3 separate regions of the Homo sapiens genome follow, and regions 1 and 3 are each linked to region 2. Evidence: promoter capture Hi-C in 16 types of primary human blood cells and fetal thymus (Javierre and others, 2016). All regions are on one chromosome and are shown on one strand. Each heading gives the region's core, a stretch centred on a gene start or on the middle of the fragment in contact. The rest is flanking DNA. Distances are from core to core; before and after follow the strand shown. Region 1 overlaps REDIC1 (regulator of DNA class I crossover intermediates 1). Region 2 holds the start of REDIC1 (regulator of DNA class I crossover intermediates 1). Region 3 overlaps ABCD2 (ATP binding cassette subfamily D member 2).

The links. The method cuts DNA at HindIII sites, captures the fragments that hold promoters and counts their contacts. A CHiCAGO score of 5 or more calls a contact.
Region 1: a fragment that was not itself captured here is called in contact with the fragment with the promoter of REDIC1 in region 2 in 3 of 17 cell types (naive CD8 T cells, non-activated CD4 T cells and total CD8 T cells); the score reaches 6.3 in naive CD8 T cells.
Region 3: a contact is called between a fragment that was not itself captured here and the fragment with the promoter of REDIC1 in region 2, in 3 of 17 cell types (non-activated CD4 T cells, naive CD8 T cells and total CD8 T cells). The highest score is 5.9, in non-activated CD4 T cells.

Annotation. Positions count from the first base shown.
Region 1 is chr12:39,657,899-39,660,598 of GRCh38, reverse strand. All of the region lies in intron 7 of REDIC1 (regulator of DNA class I crossover intermediates 1), which reads right to left. Among named protein-coding and RNA genes, the nearest start is that of REDIC1, 33 kb to the right of the region's middle. The HindIII fragment of the contact is 4,797 bases long and covers 1-2,700 here.
Region 2 is chr12:39,624,859-39,627,558 of GRCh38, reverse strand. It overlaps REDIC1 (regulator of DNA class I crossover intermediates 1), which reads right to left and starts at 1,376. Exons shown (of 13, transcript NM_001031748.4): 1 at 1,200-1,376. The coding sequence starts at 1,222. The HindIII fragment of the contact is 5,259 bases long and covers 1-2,700 here.
Region 3 is chr12:39,584,545-39,587,257 of GRCh38, reverse strand. ABCD2 (ATP binding cassette subfamily D member 2) reads left to right here. Exons shown (of 10, transcript NM_005164.4): 7 at 961-1,106. Among named protein-coding and RNA genes, the nearest start is that of ABCD2, 34 kb to the left of the region's middle. The HindIII fragment of the contact is 482 bases long and covers 1,162-1,643 here.

The DNA.
Region 1 (2,700 bases), core at 106-2,605, 33 kb before region 2:
ATTATTACACATTCCATGCATGCAACAACATACCACATGTACCCCAGTAATATGTACAATATTAAATAATATGTATCAATAAAAAATTTAAAAAAAAAGAACAAAATATATGGACAACAGTTTTCAGTCAGAGGAGACCAGGTGAGCAAGATAATGATCCCTGAGAGAGAGAAAACAAATGAGGAGAACTCTGTGATTGTTCCTAGGTTATTGTCTGGAGAGAACATTCAAGCCACAGAACAAGGAAAGAGAACCTAATCAGAGCCCAACTGAGGCTCCCTTTGTTGAGGAAACACCTGGGGATCCAGGGAGATTGCAGAGGATAGAGTTCACAAGTTAGAGTACCATAAAGGAGAGTGTTTCAGAGAGTAAGACCTCCAGAGATCCAGAGTGTTCTCAAGTGTTCAACTAAATACTAACCGGCACATGCATGTGAAGTAATTGCCGAAGGCTGTGAAAAGAACCACCCAAGGTAAGAAAAATAGAACAATCTCAGGAGCTCACTAGGGGGGAAAATTTTGATTCCACCCTCTAGAGTGGAAAATTTCATAATTCAAGGGGGATCAAGAAAGTATTCAGAAGGGTATTGCCTCAGCAGTGGAGCAAAATTAACTACAAACTGAAGGCTTATTGGTCCTGCTTGACAAAATTTAAAAGCAAGCCTCAATAAGATCATAGGGTTTCCAAGTACCATAGTGTTTCCAAGTACCATAGTGTTTCCAAGGATGATGTGCAGGAAAATAAAAATGTCCAGCAGCCATAAAAATAAAAATTCATAATGTATAGAATCCAACAAAATTACCAGGAATGCAAAAAAGAGAAGATCTATAATGAGAAGCAAAATCAATTATTAAAAACAGATCAAGAAATGACAAAAATAATGGAATTCGTAGACAAGTACATTAAAAGTTATCATAACTATATTTCCTGTATTCAAGGAGACAGAGGAAATACTGAACATGCCTAATAGATACATGGAAGATAAAAAAGAAAAGGTAAATCAAAGTTCTAGAGATGAAAATTACACTGGATGGGATTACCAGCAGATAAGACCACACGGAAGATACAATTATGGACGTGGAAGATATAGTAATATAATCTACATAAAATAAAACAATGAGAGAAAAAAGACTGGAAAAAACAGAGCACCAGTAAACTGAGATTTCAAGTAGACTAATTTACCAATTTGAGTCCCCCAAGGAGAAGGAAAGGAGTCAGAAAAAATATTTGAAGAAATAATGGATAAAAATTTTTGATAAAAATAAGTCCACAAATCCAAGATCAAGAAAACCCAAACATAAGAAATAGAAAGAAAATTAATATCTTAATCAAAGAATAGAAATCAATGTTTAAAAAATCATGACAGAAAAATCACAAAAACAAAGATAAAAACTATATTATATATACAGATATTAAGATAATGACAGCAAACTTCTAGTTGGAAACTACACCAAGTCAAAAGACATCTTTCAAAAACAGAAATTTGCAAATATACAAAGATTAGAGCATTAATCACCAGCAGATCTACAATAGAAGAAATGTTAAGTCTTTCAAACAGAAAATGACACCAGATGGAAATCTATATCTACACAAAATAATGAAGACCACTAAAAATAACAACTACGTGCTTAAATATAAGAAACATATTTTCTTATTTAGCTTTCTTTAAAACAAAACAACAATGCATTATTGGGTTTATAACATACACATAAATAAATGTACGAATATAACACAAAGGCCAAAGGAGAGAAGAAATAAAAAGTATACTACTGTAAGATTCTTATACTATACTTGATACTATAACTTGAAGATAATCTGTGATACATTAATATATATCTGATAAAGTCTAAAGCAATCAATAATAAAACAGAATTATAGCTAATAAACAAAGAGATGAAAAGAAGTCATAAAAATACTTAAATAAAAGTAGAAAAAGAGGCAAAGGGATGGACAAAATGCAAACAGCAAGAGGACAGACTTAAATCCAAACCTATACATTGTCATATTAAATGTAAACCATATTCTTAGCCACTATACCAGTCTGAATAAATTTGGAAGGATCAAATCATACAAAGTATGTTCCTTGTCCACAAAGGAATTAATTCATAAAGATAATGGGAAAGTCTTAGTTTCTGGGAACCAAATACGAAATTTCTAAATAACTCATGGATTGAAACAGAAATCCAAAGAAAGATTAGAATGTATTTTGATCCAGGCTGGGCATGGTGTCTCAAGCCTATAATCCCAGCACTTTGGGAGGCTGAGGCAGGTGGATCACTTGAGGTCAGGAGTTCGAGACCAGTCTGGCCAACATGGTGAAACCCCAACTCTACTAAAAATATTTTTAAAACTTAGCCAGGCGTGGTGGGAGGCACCTGTAATCCCAGCTACTTAAGAGGCTGAGGCAGGAGAATCACTTGAACCCGGGAGGCAGAGGTTGCAGTGAGCCAACATCACACCACTGCACTCCAGTCTGCGCAACAGAGCTAGACACTGTCTCAAAAAAAAAAAGTATTTTGATGTGAATAAAAATGAAAACATAATATTTCAAAATTTGTAAGATACAGCAAAAACAGCAGTTAGTAGAGAATTTATAGCCCTAAAATGCCTATATTAGTAAAGAAGAATGGTTTCAAACCAATGACCTTACCTCTTAAAAAAACTAGAAAACGCAGAGGAAATTAAATGCAAAATAAGCAG
Region 2 (2,700 bases), core at 127-2,626:
CAGTATATTGTTTTTGCATCCTCCCAGTAGCAACTAAAATATTACTCCCAAAATAGCCATAAAAGTTTGTGATATATGACAGAATAATAGCAACATCTACATTTTAATAGTGCTAAGCATTTGTAAAATTATTTCATATAATCCTATTTAATATTTTAAAGAATACTAAATTCAAAAAGATCACATTATAAGCATGTATCAACTAAATCCTGTTGAAGCCTGTAAGTAAATTTTCACTTTTCTCCAGAGTACGTCTGCTGCCAGAACACTAGCCAGAAGTAATTCAGGTAAATTTCTAAAATACAATGCTAGCATATTCAACAGGATAAAAGTGCATGCTAAAATTATCAGGCATAGCTACAATACTTAGTGAATACAAAAGCTGTCTTTCCTCCGATAAATTCTTTAGAATTCAAACGCATTATAATCTAACATATAATTACTGTCCTGGGTCTACTTGTGACAAAAAAATTACATGTAATGGCTTCTTGTTTCAATCAAAACAATTCTTCTCATCAAGAATTTTGATCAAATGAAATTACAGGCCCACATGATTTCCACCCAGCTGGACTTTAAGGTCAATAACAATGAATAGGTTATATAACACTAAATTTTCAATCTATCACGCTTTATGTGATCAATCCTAAATACAAAATAAATGGCAAATTCGCTCAAGTTATTCAAGTAAAAACGGTTCACTTTACTTCCCCTTAAAATACAAACTACAATTTGGATTTATGGTGATACTGGTGCCCTGCCATTGATTTAAGTGCAGCTGGGACTGGGCTGTTTCACAATTTCCAAATTCATGCAAAGACTATATATCAACTCAGAAGAACCTAAAAGAGGTGTAGACACGGAAAGAAGGCAGTAGGGGAGGGCTCAGGTGCTAAAAGGCCTCATTACAGTAACAGAGCATAGGACATGGAGAAGGGGAGGAGGGGCAGCAGGGAAGGTTACTCACAGTGGCCCCCACAGGTGAAGCCTTTGTAAAGGCAGTGAGTGGGGAGAAGCTGAGTTACTTTTGTCTGAGGAGTAGAGATATGGTTCTAGAGTCTCCAACCCGATTTGGATAACAATAAAAAGACCCTTTCCTACCAAGTTCTTTCCAGCTAAGGCTGTGACCTCTCCGCCAGGAACTAGAAAGAGGAGTCGTAGGAATGAATGTCCCAGCCTCAAACTCCAGCTGCACAACTTACCGGGACCCCCCGACCCAATTCATCTTCCCAAATCTTTTGACACTGAGGTCCCTGTGTCTAGAGCTCAGACATCTCAGCTCTGCGCCAAATCGCAGCTTCAGCAGGATCCCCCAGGGCCTCCTGACAACGTCAGGGCCCGAGTAAGCTCCTTCTGGTCCACCGCCTGAGGCCCAACCTCCCAACAGCCTCTGCGGCTTCTGCGTGTTCCTTCCGGTCCTGATAGGGCCGCAAGGGGACGCTGCGGCAAAGCAGCCGACCTGGCTGACATCGTTTTAATCGCTGAGGCAAGGCAGGCCTAAATAAATGAAAGCCTAAATTTTTGACAGGGGCCACAGGATTAGTGTTTCAAAACACCTCCATCATAATTTTATCTAGTTCTGACAGGTCTTTGACGTCTTTTTCGAGTCAGAGACCAGACTTGAGAAAGAAAAAGAAGGCAAGGACACAGTTAAGGATCGCTAACCCTAAAAATGATGTTTCCCTTCCCATTTATTACCCCATACCCAAATTCCTTAAATATCCTTCATGTGCAGTTTTAATACTCCGTAAACAGGTGTTTATAAGAAACATAGCGCTGTAGTAAGTTACCATTCTGTGCATTGAGTTGCTAAGAGAGCTTAAATCAGGCCGGGCGCAGTGGCTCACGCCTATAATCCCAGCACTTTGGGAGGCCAAGGTGGGCAGATCACGAGGTCAGCAGATCAAGACCATCCTGGCTAACACGGTGAAACTCCGTTTCTACTAAAAATACAAAAAATTAGTGGGACGTGGTGGGACGCGCCTGTAGCCCCAGTTATTCAGGAGGCTGAGGCAGGAGAATTGCTTCAACCCAGGAGGGCAGAGGTTGCAGTGAGTCGAGAGACTCCAGCCTGGGCGACAGAGCAGACTCTGTCTCTTAAAAAAAAAAAAAAAAAGAAAGAAAGGAAAAAAAAGAGCTTGATCAAAACTTAATTAGATGTAAAAGTCCAAAGATGTTAAAATCCTTACTGAAAAAAAAATCTCAAAACAAAAATTGAATTATGCTATTTGTTTCTGTATTAAGTTTGTATATCCTTACAAAACAATTATCTTACAAACTGTCCTATATTATTTTGGTTAGAAACTAGGCATCTCTTCTTCCAAATACATGCACAAATTACATTTTTTTAAATTGCCATGTTTTTTTCCAGAACATAACCTGGGGAAGATTTCACAATTTGATATATAATAATCGATTTTTTGTTAAGTCATTGGAAAATAGTACTTAGAATAGGATTATGTCCCAGGGTAGATATCTTGTTTAATCACAAAAATCCTGTTTTTTATGACAAAATTCACCAAGGTGTATCTAAAATTGAATTAGACCAAGTGAATTCAGCATTTCCGAGAATATCAGACTTTGACATGGAGTTGTTTTTTCAGTAACAAAACCATACAGGCAAGGAAGAAGCAATGGCCCTGTGTATCAGCCTTTCCTACTTTCAACATTTTAAAACATATTGACTAAATTAACTGAAAGGGG
Region 3 (2,713 bases), core at 153-2,652, 40 kb after region 2:
ATATCAGTTTATAGAGGTCTTCCTCATCCTTTTATTACAGCTGCTTAGCGGATGTACTATAGTTTATTCTGTCTGTCTTCTTTGTATGGGTATTTATGTTGTATTTCAGTATTTTGCTATTACAAATAAGCTGTAATGAATAACCTCATGCATCTTTTTTTGTATTTTTAGAAGTATATTTTCAGAGTGAATTCCCAGAAGGAGGTCAAAGGGCAACAAATGCTCTGTCAGTTTGCCAAATCCCCTCTGTAAGAGTTGTACCATTCTGCATTTTCACTGTAGTGTGAGAACATTCCCTTACCCATAGGCCTGCCAGTGGAGTGAGTTACCAAGTTGTTGAATTTTTGCCAATCTGATTAGTAAGAAACTCAATGTAGTTTTAATTTGTGTTTTTCTTACTATGAATTAAATTTTTTTGTTTTGTTTGTTCACATTGCTGGGTCGAAACCCAAATTGTATAATATGTCACCCAAATAATTATAGATGAATTACAGAAGCAATCTTTATCAAATACAGTGAAACAAAGTATATACAATATTTCCCTGCTGAAAATGTTAAATGTGGCTGGGTTCTATGGCTCACAACTGTAATCCCAGTGCTTTGGGAGGCCAAGTTAGGAGGAATCACTTGAGGCAGGTGTTTGAGACTAGCCTGGGAAAACATATCAAGACCCTGTCTCTACAAAATATAAAATAAAATAGAATTTTTTAGAAAAAGAAAATGTCAGATGATTTCTTGGAGAAGCTTTTCTTGTGTCCATGTGTCAGTAAGTTTTTATGTAAACATAACGGTATTGTTTAGCAGTGCCTGAGGGAGAAGTACTCATCGCCAGGTAACAAATATCATCCTGGAAATGTAGTGTTTAAAGTCTTCACTGATGTTTTCAGACTACCAAGTTGTCACACTGAGTAAGTTATCATGACTTTCCACTAGGATTCTTGTGTGCTTGGTGTTTTAAAGGCCATATATGTCTCTTGGAAGTCTTCGGGATCAAGTCATTTACCCTGATTCAGTGGATGATATGCATGATAAAGGTTATACAGACCAAGATCTGGAACGTATCCTACACAATGTCCATCTCTATCACATAGTTCAAAGAGAAGGAGGTAAAGTCTATCATTCTTTTCTAATGCATTTAACTTCACTTTTAAAAAGTAAGCTTGGGTATATATTTAGTCTGTGGTTTAATTTGAATGTATGCTATAATCGGAAATAAGCACATAAGTGTAAAGATGGAGTTTTATTGCTGTTCCATTATTTACATTTCTTTTTCTGCTTGTGTTGTGTTTAATGCAACACACTAAGTTTTTATTAAGTCTCCATGTCAGTGCAGCTAACATTTAAAAACAGTTTTTTTCTTTTATATTCGAATGTACAAAGTCCCTGAGGCCATTGTCAGTCTAGATGTATGTAAAGTCTATGACAGACATATTTGCCTTACAAGCTCTCAGCTCACATTAAATTAAATAATTTGAGAAGTAGATACCACAGAACTTTTTTTGTTTTCAGACCCACAATCTGACCAGTATCTTTTTTTGCTCTCAAGCAGCACACAGGTAATTAAAGTTAGAAACTTCTGTATTGTGGTTTTTCAGCATAAAACATTTTTGAAAGAGTATAAATAACATTTGTACATATAAGCTTAAAATAGAATTATTGTCTAATAATACTCTTTCTGTGTTTAGTGATACTTTCAAATAATTTAATAATAATAATCACACTTTAACTAGATAAGCCAGGCAAGAGAAAGAAATAAAGGGCATTCACATAGGAAGAGAGGAAGTCAAACTATCCCTGCTTGCAGACACATGATTCTATATCTAGAAAACCCCATAGTCTCAGCTCAAAGCTCCTTCAGCTGATAAACAACTTCAGCAAAGTTGCAGTGTACAAAATCAACATACAAAAATCACTAACTTTGCTATACACCAACAACAGCCAAGCGAACAGCCAAATCAGGAAGGCAATCCCCTTCACAATTGCCACAAAAAGAATGAAATACCTAGGAATACAGCTAACCAGGAAGGTGAAAGATCTCTACAATGGGAATTACAAAACACTGCTCAAAGAAATCAGAGAAGACACAAATGGAAAACCATCCCATGTTCATGGATAGGAAGAATCAATATCATTAAAATGGCTATGTTGCCCAAAGCAATTTACATATTCAATGCTATTCCTATCAAACTACCAATGACATTCTTCACAGAACTAGGAAAAAAACTATTTTAAAATTTGTTTGGAACCAAGAAAGAGCCTGAATAGCCAAGGTAATCCTAAGCAAAAGGAACAAAGCTGGAGGCATCATGCTGCCCCACTTCAAACTATACTACAAGTCTACAGTAACCAAAACAGCATAGTGCTGTTACAAAAACAGGCACAGAGACCAATGAAACAGAATGGAGAGCACAGAAATAAGGCCGCACATCTACAACCATCTAATCTTCAACAAAGCTGACAAAAACAAGCAATGGGGAAAAGACTCCCTATTCAATAAATGGTGCTGTGATAACTGGCTGGCCATATGCAGAAGACTGAAGCTGGACCCCTTCTTTATACCATATACAAAAATCAACACAAGATGGATTAGAGACTTAAATGTAAAACCCCAAACTATAAAAACCCTGGAAGACAACCTAGGCAAAACTATCCTGGACATGGAAACAGACAAAGACTTCATGACAAAGATACCAAAAGCAATCACAATGAAAGC